Linked DNA regions of Homo sapiens: regions 2, 3, 4, 5, 6 and 7 are each linked to region 1. The links are contacts of gene promoters, found by promoter capture Hi-C in blood cells and fetal thymus (Javierre and others, 2016). All regions are on one chromosome and are shown on one strand. The core of a region is centred on a gene start or on the middle of the fragment in contact, and the rest is flanking DNA. Distances in the headings are between cores, read along the strand shown. Region 1 holds the start of STPG2 (sperm tail PG-rich repeat containing 2). Region 2 has its middle 24 kb from the start of EIF4E. Region 3 overlaps EIF4E (eukaryotic translation initiation factor 4E). Region 4 overlaps METAP1 (methionyl aminopeptidase 1). Region 5 overlaps METAP1 (methionyl aminopeptidase 1). Region 6 overlaps EIF4E (eukaryotic translation initiation factor 4E). Region 7 overlaps EIF4E (eukaryotic translation initiation factor 4E).

Region 1 (3,894 bases), core at 262-2,761:
TTACAAGCACCACTGGATTATCATACACAGCACATGAATTTTTCTCTTTCATCTCTGTGACTCTTTCTAATATGTCATAGTAAATATCTAGATCTTCTGAATGGGTATAGGTGGCAGCTTGGAAAATAAGGTTAAAACAACATTGAGAGAATTATGAGGGTTTCTGACAGAATGCAGGGAGAATCGAAGTTGGTGAGATGTTTCCAAAATATTGCAATATTCATTTTCCTACCATTAAAAAAAATCTTTGCCACCTCTCGTTTTGGATTATACGTCTCTTTCCCCATTAGAGAGAGAACACCTGAGGGCAGGGACTTTCTTATGCCTTTGTATCCTCATAACTTAGCAGGGATGGAACCTACAGTATATGCCAATTCGTGTTTTTTAAGTGCATAAATAATTTAGCTAGCTATTGAACAGAAAAAAAGGTACTACAGATACATCCTTGAGAAGCATATAGCCTCGCAAGGAGAGGGTTCCGACCTATATGGCACAATGAAGCCACAGTAAATGTTGCACAGGATTGAGTGGCAAATCGTGTATTACAGAGTATGAAAACTATAAAAACTTGTAGTAGGAACAAATTAACGTACTGTAGACCATTTGGAGGTGAGGTATGATCAAGGTAGGATTTGTCTAAGCCTCTGAGGATATTTATAATCTGGACAGAATTCTTGCTAGAAAAAACAGCCTGCGAGATGCAGAGGTGGATTCTGACATAGATTCCTTAAGCCCCAAGGACAAGCAAGGTTTCTTTTGCCCAAGGTTCAGAATCATTGGTTTGGTGGGGTGGACTGGGCTTTTTCAGTGCCTTCGCTTTGCTTTTTAAATATTGATGAATCAGTATTGTGGTTACCTGGCATACGACAAAAGAGGCAGCTTTCAGTCACTTCCACGGCTTCAGTTGGTGAGCTTTTCGCCTCCTTGCCTGGTGTCCTCATTTCTTTTTTTTTTTTTTTCTTTTTTACCCTTATCTTATTTGTTATTTTTTTTTCTGGGTTCTCCATTTCTTGTCACTGCCCTGAGCCCTGGGTTTGTCTTAGCAGTTTGGACTATCTACAGGTTAAGATCAGAGGTGCCTTTTCTCTGTGAGTACGAGTGGGGCTGCAGTAGAAGCGGGGGAGAGCTTGCGGAACCCCAAGCTCTCTGCTTCATGCTACTGCATTTTTCTTTACTAGGTTCTGTTGAGTCGGGAAGCAGATCAAGGTCAAGTTAGTCCTCACCCTTCCTAACGCGTTTTCTAAGGTTCTTCTGCATACTTAAAAAAGTTCGGGACCTAAGTAGTTACCGGGACCCCAAGAGCTACGAGGTTTAGGCCTGCCTTCTTCAAGGCGCGCCGGGTTCCGGGTAAAAAGAGCCGGGAAAGGGTGGCTGCTCGGTGCGCATGCTCCGAGGGCTCGGCCCAGGAAGGCACCTCCACTTCGCTCCCTAGAGACTGGGCCCGCCTCCTCCCCAGAGACTGGGCCCGCCTCCTCCCCAGGCTTCCGGGCGGAGAGAAGTGGGCGGAGTCAGGGCCGGAAGCACCGGGGCGAGCGTCTAATCCCTAATACCCAATTTTGGTGGCGTGCACCTGGCAAACTGATGATTGTGTGGGACGTCTAATCTCTAGTCGCTCACCCCTCTACTTTACCACAGAGCTAGAAATCGATTTGAGGAAATCTGGTATCAATGAGCGGGCGGGGAGACAACCCCACCCCTAATTTCCCTGTTTACGGAAGTTCTTTCCCGGCCTCCTCAGACTGGTGTCGGCTTCCTTTTTCTCCACACTTCTAGCTACCTTGTTTTTATCGTTTTCGGCACCTGCCCTTCCCCAGCGCCCCCACCACCCCGAGCACTATGTATGATCGGGCTCCCCGCCTGCTCAAATTGGCTGAAGGTGGCAGCACTGAGGCCCATGTGGGTCCTGGATCCTACCAGGTACCTTTCCTGAAGCAGCAGGCGACAGGTAAGATGTAGGAAGAGGCAGAGCTCCTGTGACAGGCATCCTATCTTCAGCCTGCTCCGCTTCTGCGTGCTTGTGAGTTAAACATAGAGCGGAATAGTACCATTTTGTAAACATAACAAAACATGAAGTAGGCAGGGAAAACACTATACTTTTATTTTACAGATGAGACTGATAGTATCACTTGTCCCATTTCAAAAGGCTGGTGAGCATATGGCTAGGACTTTTGATTCCGCAATAGTTGTCTACATCCTACTTTTGATTGTGCAGTTTAGGTCTAGGATTTTGATTTCCTGGCTGTGTTGACATAATATATGAGTCTCCAAATCCTGTGCCCTTACCTCCCGCTGTCTCGTTGCTTTGTAATCCTGCCTGCCTCACATCTTTCCTCCCATTAACCAGAGACATTTATTTATTAAGATGTAGCTTATATTTCTATTTTGCAGTATTATTTAAAGATAGTTCCGTTTTTTTTTCAGACAGATTTTTCTGACCGTCCTCATCTCTTTTAACACACTTCAGGGGAGCCCCTTTTCTCCACATTCTGTAAAGAAAAATTATATTTTTGACCAGTGGAGTGGGGATGGATAATTTAAATAATATTTGCTCTCCTCGTTTGTTTGCAGTTAGTGACTTAGTCAAAAATAAATACATCAATTTTGCTTTCTACTTTTTCTATTCTGGTGATTTTCTGGAGCTTAATACCGTCCAAATGATAGTTTTTCTTAACCTACATTTTCCCCATACCTACACTATGTATTTTCAAGCAAATGCCAGGATCCATTATTCTGTTACATAACTGATCAGATAAGGGAAGGTTTAGGTTTCTTGGGGTGGAGTACAAATTTGACTTCTGTCAGTGTTTCACATGTTGAATTGTACTGCTTCACAGTATCTGGTATCACTATTCTTGCAGCTTATTCTATCTTTATTTTAATGGAGTTGGGCATTATAAGCATTAATTCCCCTAACAATGGCTAACAATGACCCCCTGTGACACTTTGCAATCCTTAATTTTGACATAACTGACCACTTTATTCTTGGAAACACTTCTTTCCAAAATGTAACATCATTTCCTCCTGTTTTTTTTTTTTTTTTTTTTCCCAACTACTGTCTTGGAAGAGTGTCTGGGAACATGATTGGGACCTAATAAACATTTGTTAAATGCCGAATCAGGGCATCATCTTCTCCCCCTCTCCAAGCAGTCCTTCATGGCCTTCTTTAAATGTTTTTATGTTTCTTGTTGATGAAAAGAGTCAAACTCTGTAAAATATTTTAAGAGATTTATTCCGAGCCAAATATGAGTGACCATGGCCTGTGACACAGCCCTCAGGAGGTCCTGAGAACATGTGCCCAAGGTGGTTGGGGTACAGCTTGGCTTTATGTATTTCAGGGAGGCATGAGTTATTAATCAAGTACACTTAATAAATACATTGGCTTTGTTCAGAAAGGCGGGACAACTCAAAGTGGGGGCTTCCAGGCTATAGGTAAATTTAAACATTTTCTGGTTGACAATTGGTTGAGTCTATCTGAAGACTGGCATCAAAAGAAATGTTCAGGTTAAGATACAGGATTGTGGAGACCAAGTTTTGTTGTGCAGAGGAAACTCTCAGATAGCAGACTTCAGAGAGAGGGAGCAGGTTGTAAAATGCTTCTTATCAGACCTAAAAGAGTGCCTGGCTCTTAGTTGATTATCTCCTGCATCTGGAAAGGAAGGAAAACGAAGGGGAAAGGGTATTCTCTATAGAGTGTTGATTTTTCCCACAAGAGACTTTGCAGGGCAATTTCAAGGTATGGCAAGGAAATATATTTTTAGGTAAAACATTTTGATTTTTTTTCCTTGTCTCATAATGTTATGCCAGAGTCAGATTGGAAAGTAAGCCACTATATATAGGATTAAATAAAATCCATCTGATAAGAATGTATAGTTTGTAGGGCGTGACTCCCTAGAC
Region 2 (3,872 bases), core at 308-2,807, 810 kb before region 1:
CCGAGATTTTGCCACTGTACTCCAGCCTGGGAGACAGAGTGAGATTCTGTCTCGAATGAATAAATAAATAAATAAATAAGTAAATAAATAAATAAATAAATAAAATAAGATGGAGAGTAAATCGAATGGAGGATGTGCCTGACACTGTCCATTTAGCCTTTGGCTTCCCTCCCCACTGTGCTCCATTCTTCTCCATAATGCTTTGTGCCCTGGGAAGCTTAACTGCATTGGTGGACTTGTTTATCCTCTGGATTCGAGATGGCTTTAGCTAGCTTGGAGATAAGAGGGTGGGGAGAGAGTGAAGTATTCGAGATCTTTATTCCTTTGGCCCCTTCCCTACCATGTTTCCATGGCTCACTCACTCTCTCTACTGAAGTCCGCAACTTTTGTCTAGAGTCCTGCTCTGTACACTTCTCTCTCTGGTTTCTGGCAGAGTTCCTTCCCCTCAGCCTTCATACCTAGATATTCGGTTGCAACAGTCCCCCACCCACCCTAAAGCCAGCCTGGGAATACTATACCATGTCCTATTGGCTCCCTAAACTTTGCCCATGTCTGCAAATAATTACCTTACTAAAAATCTCCTATAATTACGCAGGTTAATATGCCATCCATTTATTGCTGTTACCTTAATACTGTTGCTGTGATTACAGGAATAATTTAATATGCCTCTACATTTTCATAATTGTGAAATCACAATGTATCTTATCACTGATGCGTAGGTTCCATTGTGCCTCTTGGTCCCTGACCCAAAAGCTTTTGCTAAATCAATGACATATAATCATAATATATAGTCTATAATCAATGGCATGTTAGAATTGAGGAACTATGGTATATAGTGAAAGATACTCTAGTGAAGGGCTGAAAAGGGCCATCTCATGTTCTTGTGGAAAAAAAGACCATTTGAATTTTACTCCATAGGCAACCGAGAGCAATTCCTTGGCTTCTAGAACAGAGTGCCATAATTAGGCTTGTGATATTAAAAAAAAATAAACTTTCGACAGTACGAAGAGTGGACTGAATATAGAGGTCTGAATACAGGAAGGCCAATTAGGCTGCTGTTGCAATAATTCAGATGAAAAGCAGTGAAGGTCCAAGTAGGGCAATTAGAGTAGAAATAAAGAGGATGAGATAGATATAACAGCCTGATGAGCTGCTACAGTTGCAAGAAAAAGTGTTTAAATCATGATAGCTCAAGTATTGGGTTTATGACCTACAGGAAATCTGAAAGGATAGGTACAGACCCACAAAGCTTCCTTCTCCTAGGTGCTAGGAACAATAGCACCATCTACGTGGAAACTAGGGAAGAGTTCTCAACCTTATACTAATAACTTTTTTTTTTGAGATAGGGTCTCTCTATATCATCCAGGCTGGTCTCAAACCGCTGGGCTCAAGTAATCCTTCCAACATACCAAGAACTATGAAGGCCATAAGACAATAACAATTAAAACTGGATGATAGACCGGGCATGGTGACTCATGCCTTCAAAACCCAGCACTTTGGGAGGCTGAAGCAGAAGGATCACTTGAGCCCAGAAGTTCAAGACCAGCTTGGGCAACATAGTGAGACTCCGTCTCTATTCTAAAAAAATGGAATAAAAATAACATAAAAAAATGAAACTGGATGATGGGTAAATGAGATTTATTGTTATTCCTCCAGCTTTTGTTTAATGTTTGGAGTTTTTTATATTAAAAAATTAAAAAAATTTTTTTAAACTTTGAGAAACATCTCTCAAATACCGAAGAATTTGGACTAAATTGAAGAAAAAATAGAGAGACAAAAACATTAGAGGTTAGGAACACAGTCTCTGAGCAAGACTGAGTTCATTTCTAAATCAGAAACCAAGACCCACAAAATACTCAAGCTTCCCATAGCTTCAGCCCTCTTCCTCTCTCTCTTAAGCCATAGAAGGGGATAATCCTAATTCTAAAACTTACAAAGCCTTGACTATGTACCAGGAACCATTTCATACATCTTACAAGCATTAACTCATTCAATCCTAACTAGTCTCCTGTTACAGATAAGGAAACTGAGCCACAGAAAAGTTCAGAAGTCCAAGGGCAGCTGGGCGCAGTGGCTCACACCTGTAATCCCAGCACTTTGGGAGGCTGAGGCAAGTGGATCATGAGGTCAGGAGATCGAGACCATCCTGGCCAACATGATGAAACCCCATCTCTACTAAAAATACAAAAATTAGCTGGGTGTGGTGGTGCGTGCCTGTAATCCCAACTACTTGGAAAGCTGAGGCATATGAATCACTTGAACCCAAAAGGCGGAGGTTGAGGTTGCAGTGAGCTGAGATCACGCCACTGCACTCCAGCCTGGTGACAGAGCAAGACTCTGTCTCAAAAAAAAAAAAAAAAAAAAAAAAGAAAAGAAAAAGAGAGAGAGAGAAAAAAGAAGTCCAAGGGCACACAGATGGTAAGCAACAGACACAATCAGACATTCTGGTTCCAGAAGGTGAGTTTGTACATACTACATATCACAGAGTATAGTGTAGATGTTATTACAAAGAGAATATACCCATTTCTAATATTATGGTACAGTTTACAGTTCCCAGGTAAAAAGAGAGTGGACAGTCAAGCAGAATTCACCAACACTTTTTGGGTGAAAAGCAGATTTGGACAGAACTGCTCATAAATGAACCATGGAAAAAGTCTACTATAATAAACAAGTACACAAACTAAAAGAAAGAAAACATCATGGTACTATTGGATAATAGTTCAGAAAAAATACAGGTTTTTACATAAAAGTTTTTATATAACACATTATATAAGGGTTTTTATATAACACATTAAACCAAAAAAATTGCTAAATAATCCAAAGATTTAAACTTAAGATCTAAAAACATGAAACTGCATAAAAAATAATTAAATACACACACACACTCTCAGTGTGCAGATGGGTGGATTAAAAAAAAATATATAAATAGGGCCAGGTGCAGTAGCTCATGTGTAAGTGCCTGTAATCCTAGAACTTTGGGAGGTTCACAAGGCAGGAGGATCACTTGAGCCAGGAGTTCCAGACCAGCCTGGGCAAGACAAGGAGATTCTGTCTCTACAAAAATTTTTTAAAAATTAGCCAAGCATAGTGGTGCACATCTGTAGTCCTAGCAACCCAGAGGGGTGAGGTGGACGGATCACTTGAGCCCAGGAGGCCAAGACTGCAGTGAGCCATGTTCATGCCACTGCACTCCAGCATGGGTGACAGAATGAGACTTTGTCTCCAAAAAAAGTAAAACATGAATACTTTTATATTATAAATATTTATATATACTATAAATATATATTCTTATATACATATATTACATATAAAATATTTTAAAAATATTTATTGATAATTATTCAGGATTGATAATATTTATTTGGGATTGAGCATAGCAATGGGAACATGGTGAGCATATTCAGGGAGGTAATGAAAGAAAAGAGTTGTTAAAGAAAAAATGAAAATATTACATAAGTGTCTGTAAACAATTATTCTTCATTACAAGAATCAATAACAAGGGTGGCATCAGTGCAAGGCTGGACAGGCAGTTGCTAGGCAGATGTACTCACAGAAATATTTTTTGTGTATGGTTGTGATGGCCTTTGCGCAAGGTTGTGGTTTTTCGCAGTCAGTCTTTTGTGATAGTTCTTATCAGGTATACAAGCATGACAACCCTCCCTTTGTGGCCTTCTCTGGCTCCATATTTCAGGGTTTGACACAAGTGACTCCTTTTTGATCCTGACAACTTTCATACGTCCCCCTCTTGATCAAAAGATTTTTCTACAAGCATTGCTGATCAGTTACCCATAGTTAGGGCTTGGTTTTTTTGGGGTTTTTTTTCCCTACTTTTAAAAAAAGTAGGCCAGGCGTGGTGGCTCACCCCTGTAATC
Region 3 (4,053 bases), core at 1,124-3,623, 740 kb before region 1:
CTTGGAGAATGACTAGGGAGGTACTATTTGAGACCATGAAAGGCAAAACTCTTTAATAAGCACTTTAAATTACCTAGCAGTTATCTAAATATTCTAACTTGTACATCTTTTTTTAGGATCATATACATGCTGAATTAGTGATGCTACTCTTATGTTTTAATGTAACCCCCTCAAGATATTCTGCTCATACAAAGAAATAGATTGTGGTATAAAATTTATACATATGTATGTACATCTTCAACAGCAGAAACAATATTTTTCTGTATATTTCCAGTGCTTGGCTTCTAATAGATATTTTGTATTCATTTGTGTTGCTGAAAAAAGCAAAGCATACGATTAAAACCATAAACTTTGAGAGTATTTGAGAACATTCATTTGAGAGTAAACTTTGAGAGTATTTATTTTTTATTAAAAGCATTGACACTTAATAATAACTACATTTAAGGCCTAATAATTTATAGGTCTAGTTTTCTAGTTAAACTAGGATTATTATTCTTTGCCCATCATCAAAACATCAAGTAGTTTTTCTTCTCTAGTTTTGTTTATTCAGGACTCTTAAATAACTCCAGTCTTCTGCACCCCCCAAAAAAAAGCTTTTCATTCTCCTACAGAGAAAAAGGAAGCCTTGAGCCACCTTCCCCAATCAGATTTGCATTTATCTAGTTTGTTTGGCTTTTACCAGTTTACATAATTCTACCTTCTAATTAGAACAGTTCTCCATGCTTCAGTTACATGTAGTCAATGTCATTACATAGTAGGTTTTTATACCATAACTTAGAGATATGAAGGATTTTTCAGTTTTCTATAAATGTGTGGGCCACTTCCTAATTTCTGTTTTTTTCTAGCAAATTTATTGCAGATAACCATTGAGTCCTTTTGTATTTATCCAGACTGCATAGTCTTAGGATTCTGTTTAGATGTGCCATTATAAATTCTCATGATGGACTTACTTGAGAGACCTTTGAGCACCACAGAAGAGAAAGGAGGCAGCAAAAGGGAAAAAGTATTTTATTGAAGGTCATTCCCACAATATCCATTCATTTTATGACATTAGTAGCGCTAATTTTATAGTCACTTAGTATCCCGTCTTTTTTTGTTGCCTAGTGGAGGCTGTCATTGATGATGTAGTTGGGAGTTACCATTAGGTAGTGACTCAGCAAACCTTATGTGGTCTTAGGTTGTCTCACCTAAACTATATTTGTGTGTTATACTATGGAATTTGATTTAAAGATGCCAACTTCTTTCTTAAATCTTTTTTTTTTTTTTGAGATGGAGTCTAGCTCTGTCACCAGGCTGAAGTGCAATGGGGTGATCTCGGCTCACTGCAACCTCCGCCTCCTGGGTTCAAGCGATTTTCCTGCCTCAGCCTCCCTAGTAGCTGGGATTACAGGCGCATGCCACCACGCCCGGCTAATTTTTGTATTTTTAGTAGAGACAGGGTTTCATCATGTTGGTCAGGCTGGTCTCGAACTCCTGACCTCATGATCCACCTGCCTCGGCCTCCCAAAGTGCTGGGATTACAGGCGTGAGCCACTGCACCCGGCCCTTAAATCTTTACCTGAAATATTCCTAGATGGGGTTAACATAGCACCAGGAGAACCAGACTAAGGATAGTAGAATCATCCATGGTCTGTAGACACAGCTAAGATCATTATTTCTGCCATCTAATATTGGAGACAAGCAAAAGATTCTTAAGAGTTGCCAATTTTTAAATCAATTTTGCTGTAAAAGACTACAGGAGATCAAATGATCTAAGCCTCCTACCTTCAGGCAAGCAACTAAGTCATCGCAAATGTTATTCTGTTATTTTGATACTTGGGAAATAGTTTAGAAATACAGACTGCAGGGTTCCATCTTATATTTAGGTGATTATAATCCCAAGATGTAGGGCTTGTAACTATATTTATTTATTTATTTTTCTAAAATCAGTTTTAAAATGATTATTATGTTGACTAACCAGTGACAGTTTGTGGTGTTTGGGAACCGTTGATCTATTCTACTCTTGGATACCTTCAAGGATAATGACTGTTTCAGTCATGCAATCCTGATGGTCAGGAAGTTCATCGTTTCTGGTTTTTGTTTTTGTTTTTGTTTTTGTTTTTTTATGTTTGTGAAAAAAACTGTGTATTAACTTCAGAAATTATTTCATCTACTTAAAGCCACCTTATACCTCTCTTCTCAGTTTCTTATATATATACATATGTATGCACTGAGTTAACTAACATAAAATATATTTTTGTCAGAGCAGTCACTAGAAGTTTTTTTGAAAATTATACCTGTCATCTGAAGTTGATTATTTAACTGCTTTTAAGATCTGTTTTGTCCATTTTAGAAATTGACTCCTTAGAAACAAGTAAACATGAACTTTTATCTGTTTATTTTCATCATATGTTCTAAATGTATATATATGTAAGCACCTAAACTCTATATTACATATTCTGTGTTTTTAATTGTTATTTTCTTTTACCTAGTCTGTACAACCATATCCAGTTGTCTAGTAATTTAATGCCTGGCTGTGACTACTCACTTTTTAAGGTATGCTTAATTGGTGATTTTATATATTTATTATAGGACTGGGCCATTTGGTATTCATTAAGAAATCTTACCATAAACTTAGGAATATTTGATAGTGTGATGAATAGGCTGATAATTTAATTGGCTGTAGTATGCTTTAGTATCAATATATCTTATTCTATTTGTTTATAAAAATTGAGAGAGAGTTACTCTGTGGGCACATACTGAGATTGATTTTGATGAGAGCTTTGATTATCCAGTCTACTCCTTCCTTTATATATTTGAGCAGACTGAGTTTATCAAGCATTCTTAACCTTAGGAGCATGGGTCCTTGGAATACTTATTATTGGGCTTTGTCAGTTGGTAGAGGGACGGGACATTCATTAACTGAAATTGCATAGTTTTTGCATGTATTTTCTAGCTGTAGAAATGTACAGAGCTTCTAAAATATGTTTGCTTCTCAGAAAGTTTAAGAACCTTCAAATTAAGTGAAACCCAAGATTTGATAGCTAATAAGTGACAAAGCCAGGACTCTAATTCTGCAATGTCATGCCTCTGGCTTTAAGTCTTATGTGCTGTTTAAAAACTACATCAATGGCAGTTTTATGGGCAATAAAGTAAGAAGTTGACAGTGTTGTTGCTTAACTGTTTCTAATGATTATCTCTCAAAGTCAAGGTAACAATGTTGTGTAATACTGTTGTCTTCTAACCCTGTAGGATGGTATTGAGCCTATGTGGGAAGATGAGAAAAACAAACGGGGAGGACGATGGCTAATTACATTGAACAAACAGCAGAGACGAAGTGACCTCGATCGCTTTTGGCTAGAGACAGTAAGGTTTTAAAAGTATAAAGCAGTTTTAGAGGTAGTTTTGGAATACTGATACTTAAGATATGTTATGTTTTACATTTGTTACTTAATTTAAGAGAAGGATGCCCAACACTAGAAAATCAGGGTCAGTAATTATTTTTGTTCTGTCATATGACTCCTGTTTATAGTACAGTGAAACATCCTACCACATTATAAGTCAGATATTTTAAGTGATTGGCAGTTGACTCTCACCACAGTAAGCTCACTGTGGTCATTTCATTAACCTCAAAATTATAGAACCTTACATTTTGTATGATTGAAGTTTTTGCAACCCTCTTACAGCATTGCTATATGTATACTAAACTTTTAAATACTTATATTTTTAGAGCGAGGGTCTTGCTCTGTTGCCCAGGCTGGAGTGCGGATATTTATTTATATGGCTCATTTCAGCCTCACCCTCTGGGTTCAAGTGATCCTCCCACTTCAGCCTCTTAAGTAGCTGGGACTACAGGTGCATGCCACCATGCCCAGCTAATTTTCTAATTTTTTTCCAGAGATGGGATCTTGCTATGTTGCCCAGGTTGGTCTCAAACTTCTGGCCTCAAGTGATCCTCCCACTTCAGCCTCCCAAAGTGCTGGAATTACAGGTGTGAGTCACTGTGCCTGTCCCACTAAACTTTTTAGATTAGTGAAGCAAATAATAAAATTGTTGTGTACTACCATTTGACCT
Region 4 (3,734 bases), core at 1,226-3,725, 900 kb before region 1:
AAGGAATCAGTTTAATTAACATTTTTACTTGCTCTTAACTGTATTTTGCAGCTTGATTTTGGGGGGAGAAGGAAGGAGGTTTCTGGTTTTGAAAAATCATGCTGACTTTCATAATTACTTTCTTTCATTCCTATCCAGGCCTTCCTATCAGCCTGGGGTGGGAGGGGGAACAATATTGTAATCCATGTTGCATAGAAAGAGTGACAGAGGAAGTCTTCCCTAATTTTCAAACTGCTCCAACTGCGGCCCCAAGGGTAGTATCTAGAGATATTAATATTTCTGGTTGTCAAACACAGGGTGGTGGTGTAACTGGCATTTACTGGGTAGAGACCAGGAATGCTTGTGGAACATCTTATGTGTATAGAACAGGTCTCTACAACAAAAAATTATCAGGCCCAAAAGCCACTAAGTGCATAGACTAAGAAACCCTACTTAAGAAGCCTAATTTCAACAGCTTTTCAAACCCTCTACCTGGGGGAGTAAGGGAGGTGCAAAATGAGGGGCAAAAATGATATATACAAAGGAATTCAAAGCACTTTCCAAAAAAGATCAAGCCACTTTCGTTCCTTCCTGGCTACTGTTATGAAAACTATTGGCAAGTTCCAGTCATACGTCATATAAAACAGCATTCTAACTATCTGGTTTTTTCTTTTTCTTTTTTTTTTTTTTTTTTTTTTGTTTCTTCAGTTGATTCACAGAGAAGCAAAAAGAATAGAAATATTGACTATATTATCTGGCAGAAACTCTAAAAATTATTTCAAACTTAAGCTTTCACAAATGACAAATTAAACATTAAATTTCTTCAATTCCACCTCCTGTATTAATGTTTTAAAATAATCAACAATGAGTAATAAGTTTTCAAAATTTCACCTGATACACAAAAATATCATATTCCTTCATTTCCATTCCTCCAACTTGAGTAAAAATTTCATCTCCCATACACATTAAAGAACGCACTAAAAACAATAAAAATACTGGATCAACATTATTAGAGATAACTGTATGTTTGTCTAAGAACTCTGTCCTGTTCACTATTCTGTTGATGACATCAAGATTTGGAGAGACTGGGGAGGATTGCAGGTAGCACACTGGTAATAAAGTTGATATGGTAAGGATTTAACCAGAAGGCTGTTTGCCCATTTATTAACAGTTTGTTAACAACTCCAACAAGATGCTGTTAAGAACTTTCCTTTCTTTTTTTTCTTTTCTTCTTTTTTTGAAATGGAGTCTCGCTCTGTTGCCCAAGCTGGAATGCGGTGGCACAATCCACTTCCCAGGTTCCAGCAACTCTCCTGCCTCAGCCTCCCGAGTAGCTGGGATTACAGGCGCCCGCCACCACACCTGGCTAATTTTTGTATTTTTATTAGAGACAGGGTTTCACCATGTTGGCCGGGCTGGTCTCGAACTCTTGACCTCAAGTGATCTGCCAACCTCAGCCTCCCAAGGTGCTGGGATTACAGGAGTGAGCCACCATGCCCAGCCCCTTTCCTTCTCTTATCCCCATAAGATACTGATTAAACAAAAAAGCCTCGATAAGTTGTTCATATGTACAAAGACAGACAGCCTGAGAAAAATCCTCCAGAAATACACCCCTACCCATTACTACAATAGTAAGAAATCTGGAAAGCACCAAAATCCAACAGAATAGTTACACAAATTGTAATACTATAGAATATAATACATAGCCATTAAAAGAATGAGGTAAATCTATGTCTGTAGGTATATATGCTAACTTGAAAAGATCTCTATGATAGTTGAAAAAACAGCCCAGTTACACATTAAAAATATTATGATTCCATTTAACTTAATTTAACACATACACATACGTGTGTGCATTAATGCACAGGAGAGAGAAAAAACCTAAACGGTAATGGGATATCTCTAGAGAGAAGAGAGAGATAAGAGGGGAGGCAAGTGTAAAGGAGGATCACACATTTTTCACTCATAATCTTCACTTTTAATTTTTTATGAGGAGAACATAATATTTATGTACTGGAAAGAATTTTAAAAATAGAATAAAAGTTGCACTAAAAAACCATCTGCACAGTCCTCTTCATTTATCAGGCAAAGAAAAGGAAGATAAATCACAGAAGAAACAAAGGATGCTAACCAATCATCTGGTCTATCACCACCAAGAGATTCCCAGATCATCCTTTTACCCATTACTGCTAACAACCAAAGCTAACTCAGGTAGAACAGGGGCAACCTGGAAGGTACAAGGAATGCACAGAACTGCAGCGCCCAGTCATTCTTGGCCCATCAACACACAGGACTGCCAATAGGTGCTCAACACTGAGGCTGACCTGCATCAATGGCTTGCATCAGGCACTCATATGTGGTCTGAACAAGTTTCCGTGCTCCATCATCCACTTCTCCAACAAAAAATGTCTCATTCAGGTCCCCATGATAACCATTGCGATAAAGAGTGATATCCACTGCAAGAGAATGTGCAAATATAAAGACCATACTTATTTTCATTTCAAAATTCAAGTGTTTTTCCAACATGACAGCATCTAGCAACTTAATGAAAAAGACAACTTCTGCATTCTCAAATTAGACACCAATGGATAGATAGTTATTGCCCAACAGAAGCTCCCTGAGATGTAACTGAACTCACTGTGGAGAGCAGGAATATGGCCATGTAACATAAGCCAGATAGTGGGTTTTTATACTCTTATAGTAATTGTATCACTTGTGGCAAAAGAAAAATGTATGTGGGACACAATCATGCAAAATAAATTACCAGAGTTAGTAACATTAAATTGAAAACTTTGCTACATTGCTACAAAATACCATTTTCACTTATCTTTTACAAGTTCCTTACTCCTGCTAGGGAATAACAGAAAAATTTACACTGCTCTACACCTGTTTTTTTAAAACTCATTTGCTTTTCTCTTATTTGTGAATATTCATTCTTCTCTTTGTCCCCATGTTTAAGAATATAGATTACTATTATACTATATATTATATACTATTATACCATTATAATGTATCTAGAGAGCACATTGAGTATTTTTAAACCACATATTTCAATCAACCTGTAACATCACAATATAGATATTTTGGTTCTAGCACAACACATACATTCCTGAAAAACCTCACACATTCTACATATAATAAAAATAACAGGCTTTATATTTGAAAAACAGGGTTGGCCTCAAAACCTATGGAACTTTATGAACAGATACCCTAACTAAAGCAGTAGCAATTCTAATAAAAATAGTGTCATAGTTAAATTTCGGCTATCATTCACAGCTAGCATCACAATCAGTCAATTATCTGCAGCCTCTAACACTTGGGCTCATGCTTCCTCATTTGATAGGTAGTTCCTTTAAGATATCTTATTAACAAAGAGTCTAATTCCATCAATATTAAAATGCCATCTAAGCCAGGCACGGTGGCTCATGCCTGTAATCCCAAGACTTTGGGAGGCCAAGGTGGGCAGATGCTTGAGTCCAGGAGTTTGAGACCAGCCTGGGCAACATGGCAAAACCCCATCTCTACAAAAAATACAAAAACTGAGCTGGGCATGGTAGCAATGAGCCTGCAGTCTCATCTACTTCTGAGGTGGGAGGATCACCTGAGCCAGGGAAGTCAAGACTGCAGTGAGCCATGGTGGCGCCCCTGCACTCGAGCCTGGGTGACAGTGAGACCCTGTCTCCAAAAAATAAAATAATACACAAAACAAAAACAAATGCCATCTAGGAAAGCCTTCATTAATGTCTTTTAAACTA
Region 5 (3,894 bases), core at 79-2,578, 920 kb before region 1:
TGCTGGAGAGGATGTCAAGAAATAGGAACACTTTTACACTGTTGGTGGGACTGTAAACTAGTTCAACCATTGTGGAAAACGGTGTGGCAATTCCTCAAGGATCTAGAACTAGAAATACCATTGGACCCAGCCATCCCATTAATGGGTATATACCCAAAGGATTATAAATCATGCTGCTATAAAGACACATGCACACATATGTTTATTGTGGCACTATTCACAATAGCAAAGACTTGGAACCAACCCAAATGTCCATCAGTGATAGACTGGATTAAGAAAATGTGGCACATATACACCATGGAATACTATGCAGCCATAAAAAAGGATGAGTTCATGTCCTTTGTAGGGACATGGATGAAGCTGGAAACCATCATTCTCAGGAAACTATCGCAAGGGCAAAAAACCAAACACCACATGTTCTCACTTACAGGTGGGAATTGAACAATGAGAACACTTGGACACAGGAAGGGGAACATCATACACTGGGGCCTGTCGTGGGGTGGGAGGAGGGGGGAGGGATAGCATTAGGAGATATACCTAATGTAAATGACGAGTTAATGGGTGCAGCACACCAACGTGGCACATGTATACGTAACAAACCTGCACGTTGTGCACATGTACCCTAGAACTTAAAGTATAATAAAAAAAGAAAAAAATAAAAATAAATAAATAAATAAAGGAGTTGGAAAATGAGCGACACTGCCACAAGTGTGGTGTAATTTACAAGTGGTATGATTTGCTCCTCTTGCAGCTGGAAAGCTTGGTAAAAGTTAAACACTATCAAATGTAGACAGAATCTTACTACACTGTCTCAAACAGTTCCAGCATTTCTAACTGCCAGACCACTAATATATCCCTCCCCACCTCTACTGTATTTTTTGCCCCCGAGATTCACTGCATTCATTCTTAAAGTAGCCCATGGTTTATGAAATTCAGAATAAGATCTAAATTACTTCAATGATATGTTCTAAGAAAAAAAGAATCATAAAGAAAGTGTACTTTATTGTTGGCAGTGATTTTAGTGTAGTAATTTTGAAACAATTTTACATCTGTCTGGTAGTATCAAGCAAATATTAATCTCCCAGATTACTTGTTTAGGAAAAAAGGTATTTTTACAGTGAAAAGGTCTGACAAACACCAAGTGATCAAACTTTGCATCAGCAATAAGGTGACAACAACATTATGTGCCTCACGTTGTACAATGAATGGGGCATACAACTGCCATTTCTGTAGTCTTCCACCAAGATGTTTATCCTGCATCTATCCTCATGAGGAACAATCAGACAAACGGACTTTTGTAAACTAACCTGATTTTTCAAGTGTCCATTTCGTAAGACATCAAAAAAGGTGTGAGGGTTATTCTAGCATGGGTGTCCAACCTTTTAGCTTCCCTGGGCCACAGTGGAAGAAGAATTATCTTGGGCCACATGTAAAATACACCAACGATAGCTGATGAGCTCAAACAAAGGCCTGTGCATAATTTTCATGATATCCACCACCACAGATAAAAGATCCTCGCACTCAAAGGATTAGACACGGCTGCTAGAGTTAAGAAGACTAAGACCAGGTATGGTGGCTCACTCCTGTAATCACAGCATTTTGGGAGGCCGAGTCAGGTGGATCACCACGGGTCAGGAGTTCGAGACCAGCCTGGCATCAACATGGTGAAACCGTCTCTACTAAAAATACAAAAATTAGCCTGGGTCATGGCGGGGGCCTGTAATCCCAGCTACTAGGGAGGCTGAGGCAGGAGAATCGCTTGAACCCAGGAGGTGGAGGTTGCAGTGAGCCAAGATTGTACCACTGCACTCCAGCCTGAACAAGAGTGAAACTCCATCTAAAAAAAAAGGAGACTACAGATACATGACAACTAAATGCCATGAATTTGGAAGCTTTAAATAACATTTTGGGGGAAAATTAAAGTTTATATCCTATACATTATATAATTCTGTATTAATACTAAATTTCTAATTGTGTTATGATCATGTAAAAGAATGTCATTAGGTTAAGAGATACATGCTGATGTAGTAGGGTGAAGTACGATGTTGCTTCTTTCAAAAGAAAAGTGCTTATACAGAGATAAAGCAAAGGTGACAAAATGACATTTGTTAGATAAAGGTAAGGGATATATGATTATTTCACTGTACTATACTTTCAACTTTTCTGTAATTTGAAAATTTTCAATATAAAAAGTTGGAGATAAAAAATAAAAATTTTAAAAGAAGGGAAAAACAGGAAGGAAATCGCTTACAGATACCATGAGGGTAGAGGTTAAGCAAAGGGGAGCATCCTGCTCTCAGTTTTAACCAAATCCAATGAAAACCCAGAAGTCGTTAGAGAACAAACTGAGGAATCAAGCAAACAAATTCCTAAACCTCATCAACTCTTGCCTATTAATTTAGATATGTGGGTGCAAGTGGTATAAAGGTGTTGGTTAATCCTTTTTATCAACAAAAGACATAAAATGAAGTTCATGTTTCCCTTCTTCCAAGTTATAATTCCAAAGGAGTTGGAAGACTGGCAGGGGGAAAAAATTATTCTAAAAGTTAATGTAAAAAAAGAAGTTAATACTTTGATTTTTTTTTTTTTTTTTTTTTTTTTTTTGAGATGAGGTCTCTCTCTCTCACCCAGGCTGGAGTGTAGTGGCACAATCATAGCTCACTGTAACCTTGAACTCCTGGGCTCAAGCGATCCCCCCATCTCAGTCTCAAGAGTAGCTAATGCTACAGGCTCGCACACCATGCTCTGACTTGTTTTGTAAAAAGGTGGCAGAATGATGAAACTAGGTGTTTTGTCACCTAAATCCAATGAACATTTGTAATTAGATATATGCAATTAGACTAGAGTCCATATTGTTTTAAAATCTCCCAAACTAAGAAAAGCATTATCACCAGTGTGGTGTTTTATCTTTTAACCAAAAAACTATCACACCAAGATCTTTCTTCCTTCAGCTTATATTCTAATGACAGACACTGAATAAGCCCACATTGTTAATTCCACAATCAGTACATAAAATGCTCCCCTAATATTCAGCATTCTGTCTTAAAAGCTCTCAAAAATATGGTTGCATCTCAAATGCTGCTGGCACTCTACTGAGTTTATGTACAGCCATTACACCTGAAAAAACATTTCTACTCAAATGGTCATGAATTTATTTTAGATTATCAAACAGCCTCCCCATTCCCACCATTTCCCTCTGAAATCCCAAAGAAATGCAGCAAAGTTAATGACTACATGGTAGGATAATCATTCAAACTTTTTAATCTCCCTTTACACATTATATTAACATTCATATTGCAAGGCATTCCATTCACAAATATTACAGTTTGATAAAAACTTCACACACATACTCCCAAAGTCTATACCAGATTCAGTCAACTTTACTAAATCATTCAAATAATAAAAGTAATGAAAACATTATTATATTTTAAAGCAATAAGGTCTGAGGCACTCTGGGAAAGATGTTCTCTTACAAGTATAATGTGTCAGTGGTATGAAATTATATTACAAGGATGCCCAGTAATCAAGTACACTCTAATGACAATGACTTTGTGATTTGATATGTCTTCACTGGATACACTCCTACTTGGACAACTGCTGAAAGGAACGTAGATATGGGGCAGCTGAGGTCATTTCTAATGAGGTTCCCAACTATGTAAAGGAGAGGTGTGTTTCCACACACGAAGGACAGCTGCATCTCTACTGCAAGGTTACAGTACACAAAATTCCTTTCTCATCACTATCACATTTACTCAACGTTAGATTTTAATAGCCCACTTGACCTCCTGGGTTCACAGCTGGAGACACTTTAGAACTCTTTCCCCATCCTCCACCATAGTGCAAACTTCACGCTTCTCTGAGCACCTCCAAGGTATGCCCTTGAAGTAAAACAGA
Region 6 (3,902 bases), core at 792-3,291, 760 kb before region 1:
CATGGCTGATCCTGTCCTGAGACAAATTAAGACTCCTGTGGTGAAGCAGTTGGTCGAGAAAAAGTGATGCATGAAAAAGAAGCAAAACAAGAAGGAAAGAAAAAAAATGAGAGCTGAAGATGGTGAAAATGATGCCATTAAAAAGCAGGCAGAAAGTCTGCGAGAATCCCAGGTGATAAGCCTTGTTTGCCAGCACAGGTTGGAAGCTGCATATACTGTTCTTTGGCAGATTTTAGAAAGTGAAAAGGACTTGGAAGAAGCTGAGGAATATAAAGAACATTTAGTACTGGATTCAGTGGAGTTAGAAGCCTGAAACTTTTATGTACAGGGTGTTTTTTGCATTAAATCATGGGGTCCAGTTTACATTTCATTATTTTTGACCACTGCTGTGTGTTCAAGTGTGAGAACGTGATTCTTTTTATGTGATTGTGTACATTTCTTTGCCTGATTTAATTTGTCAAATGAATGACAAAACTGAGAACTAACAGTAGATACTACAAGGAACAGAAACGTATGAAGTCTGTTTACATATTTGTATTAAATAATGTTCTCATTAAAGTTATTTGTACACATAAAAGAGGTTTTTACTTACACTTACCTGTATATGTGAGATATTTGACCAATGGGTATTTAGTGTCCTGCTGTGCATAATAATACAAACTCACTATATAGTTGCTTTTTTTCCTGGTAGTGGGTTTTTTTGTGTGTCTGGGAGGAAGGGTGAGGTGTACCATTCATGCCTTTTTTACTAGTTTATTGGCAGTCACATGCATTGGCAAGATGAGCAAAGGTGTTGAGCCTGAGGCTGTAGAACAGAGCACAGTATATATTATAGATTTATGTTGCCTAGAAAGAGAATCTTTGTAACCATATAATTTATTATTCAGTCCTGGCCACCTTTGGGAGTGAGAGTTCTGTTAACAATTATACTGAAACAACAAACAGGTAGAACTAGGACATGTGGTGTTCTTAGCCGTAAACCCTGGTAGTCCTGGATTTAAATGACATGTTTACTTTTCCAGGACTTCAGATTTGTCTGAAGAGTGGAGAGAATAATGGTTGTTTCACGGGATTATGAAGATTGACTATATTGAGATGATTTATAGTATGTTGAGATAATATGTATGAAAATAATGTAGCACATGGCCTGGTAGTTACTGCTTAGTAAATGTTCCCTATCAAGTAAAAACTCATAGTTTGGATGAGGTGTGAGCTTTTCAAAATCATAAAGCACCATCCTTTTCTGTTCTTACTGTGTCTGTCCTTCTGCTCATTATTTCATACCTTTATTTAATATAGTGACTTCAATTTACTAGAATGTTGTATTAGTACCTTGTAGAAATAATTGCAGCTGTCTTTGCCATATGTAGCATTTACATTTCTAATATGGACACAGCTGGTTTTCCAGTTCAGCTACAGAAAGTGAAGGAAGGGGTAATATAAGGAAGCACTACTGGATATGAGTCACCAATCATGTTGTTATCCATTATTTGGTGCTGTAGCATTGACCGAACACGTTTATATTTTTGTGTCATCAGGAAGGGGGAGAGTGTTGGTATCAGAATTATTTAGGTGTGGTAACAGTAATCTGGGTAATTATTTCTAACTTAATCACGAGTTCTTTCTCTTTTCATATCCCTACTTACTGTGTGTATGATTGGGGGTGGGGTGAAGGTGGGGAAGGTCTGGTGTAAGGATCTGAGGATAGATAGAAATTATTGAGCCAGGACAATAATTTAGAGAGCATACCCTAGGTAGTTTAGGTTACCACTCCTTGTTCAGATATTACTGGGATATGAATGTTAGTGATTTATCTTCTATTGTTCTTAAAATTTTTTCCTCATCTTAAAATTTAAAGGACTGGAACTTCTCCAGAGTTTGAAGTCTAGTTCAGTATGCCGCATTTACTCAGCTCTTACCTTTCTAAACTCTTACATTAATGTCATCTCAAGTACTGATTGCTCATGGTAGCCGACAGTTATGGATCACTTCAGTGCCAAACTCTTGGATTGTTGATGAAAACCCACACGGCACTTTTTACAAGGGAAGAAACTGATCCTTACAGGGATTTTAAGGACTTACCCTAGATCACTTAAATCCCTATGGTACTCTGAAAGTTTTCTCCTATCATACTCATCTTAAGACTTAAAGGACTCATCAAGTTGGGGTTAGAGGTGGATCCAGGCTGTCTTGTTGAGCTACCCATTTTGCAGTATGGCTCCTAGTGCATCAGGGACTGATAAACCTGGGATTGCTTTTTCTGTTATGAGAGGAAAACTGTAGTAGTGAAGTCAGAGCCTGATATATACAGACTGTCAGTTGCAGCATTATTTGGAAGCACAGAAGATGGTATGTGAATAAATGTGCCTGATATAGAATGTCTTTCTCCCTCTAGCCCCCTTTTTTGTGCCTTTTTTGATGCTTGATTTCAATGTCCTTTATGCTGTTCCTTGGTAATAGATAGTTGCAGCTCAATGCTATATTTTAGCCATTCATGAGGCCAAAGATATGATGCCTTCAGTACAGAAAAGGGGAAATAGGGTATCTGGGAGTACCTTTAAAAGTAGGAAAAGTAGGTTTCCTTACTTCAATTTACTTTAAAATGACTTTATATTGCATTAATCATTATTGTTCTGGGAGGAATACCTATATCTACATATATCAGAAGGAATTTAGGAAGGAGGAAAGTGATAAATATAATTTAAAAAATTTTTTTCTTTCTAAAACAAATCATATGAAACAACTCAGCATAGTGGCTGGTCATATAGTTTGCTCTGAATAAATACTTGGAGAATGGCAAGCCAGGTAACCATTCACTTAACATTTTTAGCTACTTTATAAAAAGCAACCCTTATTTTGCATTTCCCATGTATCAGACAGTTTAAATGCTTTTATTTTTTAATTCATTTAATCCCCATTGTGATCCTAGGAGATAAATGTCACAATGCCCATTTTAAGATGAGGAAACTGAGGCCACGGAAGTTACTTGCTCTGAATTTTACAGCTGTGAATGGCAGAGCTGGGATTCCAACATGGGGAACATGGCTCTAGAGGGTGTGATCAGAAGCAGTGCATCTCATATTCTGATGACAATCTGGTTTGTGTTTGTTTTTAAAGTTTCATTTCATTTAATTTTTTAGAGACAGAGTCTTACTCTGTCACCCAGGCTGGAATGCAGTGGTGCTATCATAGCTCACCGCAGCCTTAGAACTCCTGGACTCAAGTGATGCTCCTATTTTGGCCTCCTGGGCTCAAGAGATTCTCCTGCTTTGGCCTCCCAAGGTGTTGGGATTACAGGGATGAGCCACCATGCCTGGCCTTTTTTTAAAAATTTCTAATATAATACTTTTGTAAAATGATAAAGATGAAGACATGCATACAATATGTAAGCCTGAATTTGATTAGTTTCAGCAGATACAAAATTGTCAAATTGCTACAGATTTTCAAAGTGTTTACTTTGCATTTCTATACTTAACCTCACTGTCAACCATAACCAGTTTGTGGACCAGCAGTAGTAGTCTGTGGACTATACTTTGAGTTACTGGTTCAAACCATTATTAGTGCCAAGAGGGACTACTGATTATTCCATACTTCAAATAAGGTGTTGGGTGATTTGTCTTAACCTGGAAAAAAATTTTTTGGAAGTTCCTGTGAGTAAGTAGATATTTGTTGAATGAAGGTAATGGAGGACACAAATGGGGTATTCTGAGGGGAAAGGCTCATCATTATTTCTAGAAGTGGTTTATATGTATATTTAGGTTGAGAGTTGCTGAGAAATCTTGAATGTTCAAAACTATGGAAAAGCACATCATGGTTTTGGAATTTAAGCAATGTAGACTTGAACATGATGAGGAGAACCTAAAGTTTAGTCAGATTTATTGAAAACACCACAGAATGATGCT
Region 7 (3,931 bases), core at 376-2,875, 780 kb before region 1:
GTGTGAAGCTGGAAACTAAAGTATTTTGAGAATATATGTAAAATAGTATCGAAGTGTTTAGTTTTAGTGAGAAATGAATTTTTTTTTTTTCGATACTGACTTTCACTCTTGTTGCCCAGGCTGGAGTGCAATGGCGCGATCTTGGCTCACCGCAACCTCCGCCTCCTGGGTTCAATCGATTCTCCTGCCTCAGCCTTCCGAGTAGCTGGGATTACAGGCATGTGCCACCACGCCCGGCTAATTTTGTACTTTTAGTAGAGATGGGGTTTCTCCATGTTGGTCAGGCTGGTCTTCAACTCCCGACCTCAGGTGATCCGCCCGTCTTGGCCTCCCAAAGTGGTGGGATTACAGGCATGAGCCACCGCGCCTGGCCTGAAAATTTTTAGTACTTTTAATATACCCTTGTGCACAGGCTAGTTATGTGGAATTATTTTTGACAGTTTTAAATAGTTGGATTTTGTGTGTAGGGGTGCAGGATCTTGCTCTGTTGCTGGGGCTGGAGTGCAGTGGCGCGATCATAGCTCACTGCAGCCTCAAACTCCTGGGCTCAAGAGATGCTTCCATCTCAGCCTCTGGTGTAGCAAGCACTACAGGAGCAGGCCACCACGCCCGGATAATTTTTAAACTTTTTGTAGAGATGGAATCTCGCGATGGTTACCCAGGCTGGTCTCAAACTCCTGGACTCAAGTGGTCCTCCCACCTTGGCCTCTCAATATGTTGGGTTACAGGCGTGAGCCACCGAGCCTCGCCTGGATTTTTTTTTGAAGCAACTGATTAGAATTGGATTGTACTTGAGATACCCCTGCTGAAGGCTGCAAAAATCATGTTTTTTCTTACTTCAGCTAGTTTGTGAGCTTCCATAATGGTTTTCTGCTGTGCATAATCATAAACACTTAAAAAGAGCCATGGGCTTTTCCTGCTTATCCCATCATGCATAGGTATCTGGATGATTTTTGTCTATGGACATTACATAAAATATCATTTTCAGTTTGATATTATTGTGTGGTTTTCTCTTTGTATGAGTTGAGTTACATGAAGATGTGGCCCACAAATATTAAATTTGTTGAGAAGCTTGAAAGGGAAAATTAAGGGAAACATTTTACCTCTTAACGGATAATTTGGCAAAAATTTGAACGTTAGGGCAAACGGTACTCTGATGTTATTCTATCGGCATTTGAATTGTGGCTGGGTCAAAATTAGGTTTAATATTAGTCTGTGAAAATGGCAAGGCCATCTTACCTCCAGTAGGTCGTGTTTCTTTGTAGCTTTATCTTCATTCTACATCGTTCATTATTAGAATTAAAAAAATTTTTTTTTGACTTGTAGTTCCTTTTGAGGTAAGAGATTAATTTTGATTTCTTTAGCTTAACTGAAAGTGTATAATTTTACTTGTTTTTACATTGTAGCTCTTGAATTTTTTGAAACCACGCTAATTTCATAAGTGAATCAACTTGGACAATCAGCTAATTTAATGCTTCCTTTTTTATACTTTGGAAACATGCTCTGTACTACACAGCTTATTAATAAGAGTAAATAAGGTTTATATACATATTGACAAATATTTGTTGTACTATATAATTCATATTAATGAACAATTGAATGCCAACCAGACTATGCAAATTAGTGGACTTTTTGCTTAATGAAAGAACCCACTATATCAGAGTTCCTCGATAATCCACGTAAATTTGGCTCTGGGGTTCATATTCCAGATTTCTTCAATTAAAAGAAAAAAATATACTTGCTGAGTGCGGTGGCTCACGCCTGTAATCTCAGCACTTTGGGAGGCCGAGGCGGGTGGGGATCACTTGAGGTCAGGTGTTCGAGACCAGCCTGGCCAAAATGGTGAAACCCTGTCTCTACTAAAAATACAAAAATTAGCCAGGCCTGGTGGCAGGCGCCTGTAATCCCAGCTACTGGGGAGGCCAAGGCAGGAGAATCGCTTGAACCTGGAGGTGGAGGTTGCAGTGAACCGAGATGGTACCACTGTACTTCAGCCTGGGCGACAGAGCAAGACTCCATCAAAAAGAATAAAAAAAAAAACAGAAACAAATTTCACACTTCATTTTATAATCTGAGTTAATGAGCATGATTATTAGACTTAGAGAAATTCAATGTAGACACACAGTTTATACACAGAAGTTGCAGAGGGATAATATGCAAAATGAATTATGTAAGCTTACTCTAGTTTGGACAGAAAACTGTAGGCAAAAAACATTTAAGTAAAATATTGTTTAATTTACATAAAGTTAAGAATATGGGCCGGGTGCGGTGGCTCATGCCTGTAATCCCAGCACTTTGGGAGGCCGAGGTGGGTAGATCACCAGGTCAGTAGTTTGAGACCAGCCTGATCAACATGGTGAAACCCCACCTCTACTAAAAATACAAAACTTAGCTGGGCGTGGTGATGCGTGCTTGTAATCCCAAGGTACTCAGGAGGCTGAGGCAGGAGAAGCTCTTGAACCTGGGAGGCGGAGGTTGTAGTGAGCTGAGATTGTGCCACTGCACTCCAACCTGGGTGACAGAGCGAGACTCCGTCTCAAAAAAAAAAAAAATAAACAAAAGAAGTTTCCTTAATCTATTAGTACCGGTGAGTTGCACCATCTTAGTCATAGAGACTTTTTTGAGAAGTGGAAATGAGCATGGGTTATAGTCTCATCTTAATATCTGAGTGATCTTGAAGACTGAAATTTCTAAGTCAGCTGAAAGTCGGAATAAGATATATTACGGTGATTTCAATTTTTAAATGCAGTATTCAAAGGTGACAGTTTGTCAACTGTAAGGGACTAAAGTTGACATTCCATGAATGTTTTATACTCATGTATATCCATGCATTTACATACTATTTTCCCTCTTTTCTTGGAAATTCACATTGCTGCTTTTTAATTATCAATCCTTAGCCATTAGCAAGAAATGCAAAGCCTGTGATTCACAATCCTAAGATGTTCTTCCCACTCCTATCCCTACCATAAAAATCACTAGTGTTCCTTCAAAAGTCCCTAATCATGTCTCCAGAAAAAGAAAGGGGCTGGGCTTGGTGGCCCACACATGTAATCCGAGGCTTTGGGAGACAAAGGCAGGAGGATCACTTGAGCCCGGAGTTTGAGACCAGCCTGGCCAACATGGCGAGACCCTGTCTCTCCAAAAAATTAAAAAATTAGCTGAATATGGTGGTGCACACCTGTGTCCTAGCCTCAGGAGGCTGAAATGGGAGGATCCCCTGAGCCTGGGAGGTCAGAGCTGCAGTGAGCTGTGATCACACCACTGCATTCCAGCCTGGGTGACAGAAAGAGACCCTATCTCACCAAAAAAAAAAAGAAAAAGAAAATGATTTTGCGTGTGTGTGTGTGTGTCTAAAATACTAATAGTCATTTCTGGGCACTTCTGGAACCTGAGAATGTGGTCAGAAATATAAGGGGTTTTTTTTTTTTTGTTTCCCCAGTTGGAACTTTTGATACATTATTCCATAGAAACAGTAGGAAAATGGGCCGGGCGTGGTGGCTCACGCCTGTAATCCCGACACTTTGGGAGGCTGAGGTGGGCGGATCACCTGAGGTCGGGAGTTCGAGACCAGCCTGACCAGCATGGAGAAACCCTGTCTCTACTTAACAAAATTACAAAATTAGCTGGGTATGGTGGCACATGCCTGTAACCCCAGCTTCTTGGGAGGCTGAGGCAGAAGAATCGTTTGAACCTGGGAGGTGGAGGTTGCGGTGAGCCTATGTCTGCCATCGCACTCCAGCCTGGGCAACAAGACTGAAACTCCTTCTCAAAAAAAAAAAAAAAGAAAAAAGAAAAAACAGGAAAATGAAGTTTAGTCACACTATATTCAGTAAATTTTTGTGGAATCATTACAAATCTAACCAGCATTGGATTTATAGGGATATGGAATTAAGGATATGGATTTATAGTTGTAAGCAACTAACTAAAAAAA

The links. Contacts are between HindIII fragments. The CHiCAGO score rates a contact against its expected background, and 5 or more counts as called.
Region 2: a contact is called between a fragment that was not itself captured here and the fragment with the promoter of STPG2 in region 1, in 2 of 17 cell types (naive CD4 T cells and endothelial precursors). The highest score is 7.9, in naive CD4 T cells.
Region 3: a fragment that was not itself captured here is called in contact with the fragment with the promoter of STPG2 in region 1 in 2 of 17 cell types (M2 macrophages and total B cells); the score reaches 5.5 in M2 macrophages.
Region 4: a fragment that was not itself captured here is called in contact with the fragment with the promoter of STPG2 in region 1 in 10 of 17 cell types (total CD4 T cells, naive CD8 T cells, total CD8 T cells and 7 more); the score reaches 10.8 in total CD4 T cells.
Region 5: a fragment that was not itself captured here is called in contact with the fragment with the promoter of STPG2 in region 1 in 7 of 17 cell types (total CD4 T cells, monocytes, total B cells and 4 more); the score reaches 9.5 in total CD4 T cells.
Region 6: a contact is called between a fragment that was not itself captured here and the fragment with the promoter of STPG2 in region 1, in 2 of 17 cell types (total B cells and monocytes). The highest score is 5.5, in total B cells.
Region 7: a contact is called between a fragment that was not itself captured here and the fragment with the promoter of STPG2 in region 1, in 12 of 17 cell types (naive B cells, total B cells, fetal thymus and 9 more). The highest score is 12.6, in naive B cells.

The regions. Positions count from the first base shown.
Region 1 is chr4:98,141,093-98,144,986 of GRCh38, reverse strand. STPG2 (sperm tail PG-rich repeat containing 2) reads left to right here and starts at 1,511. Exons shown (of 11, transcript NM_174952.3): 1 at 1,511-1,945. The coding sequence starts at 1,837. RefSeq lists an enhancer at 1,685-1,784. The HindIII fragment of the contact is 14,460 bases long and covers 1-3,894 here.
Region 2 is chr4:98,951,636-98,955,507 of GRCh38, reverse strand. No RefSeq gene overlaps it. Among named protein-coding and RNA genes, the nearest start is that of EIF4E, 24 kb to the right of the region's middle. The HindIII fragment of the contact is 612 bases long and covers 1,252-1,863 here.
Region 3 is chr4:98,886,371-98,890,423 of GRCh38, reverse strand. It overlaps EIF4E (eukaryotic translation initiation factor 4E), which reads left to right. Exons shown (of 7, transcript NM_001968.5): 4 at 2,472-2,535; 5 at 3,232-3,345. Among named protein-coding and RNA genes, the nearest start is that of EIF4E, 41 kb to the left of the region's middle. The HindIII fragment of the contact is 3,556 bases long and covers 596-4,053 here.
Region 4 is chr4:99,043,880-99,047,613 of GRCh38, reverse strand. METAP1 (methionyl aminopeptidase 1) reads right to left here. Exons shown (of 11, transcript NM_015143.3): 8 at 2,304-2,435. Among named protein-coding and RNA genes, the nearest start is that of ADH5, 43 kb to the left of the region's middle. The HindIII fragment of the contact is 3,409 bases long and covers 771-3,734 here.
Region 5 is chr4:99,062,154-99,066,047 of GRCh38, reverse strand. METAP1 (methionyl aminopeptidase 1) reads right to left here. Exons shown (of 11, transcript NM_015143.3): 11 at 3,239-3,894. Among named protein-coding and RNA genes, the nearest start is that of ADH5, 25 kb to the left of the region's middle. The HindIII fragment of the contact is 1,133 bases long and covers 762-1,894 here.
Region 6 is chr4:98,905,948-98,909,849 of GRCh38, reverse strand. The region is part of intron 1 of EIF4E (eukaryotic translation initiation factor 4E); the gene reads left to right. It also overlaps the pseudogene TBCAP3. Among named protein-coding and RNA genes, the nearest start is that of EIF4E, 21 kb to the left of the region's middle. The HindIII fragment of the contact is 9,850 bases long and covers 1-3,902 here.
Region 7 is chr4:98,922,703-98,926,633 of GRCh38, reverse strand. The region is part of intron 1 of EIF4E (eukaryotic translation initiation factor 4E); the gene reads left to right. Among named protein-coding and RNA genes, the nearest start is that of EIF4E, 4.5 kb to the left of the region's middle. The HindIII fragment of the contact is 1,104 bases long and covers 1,074-2,177 here.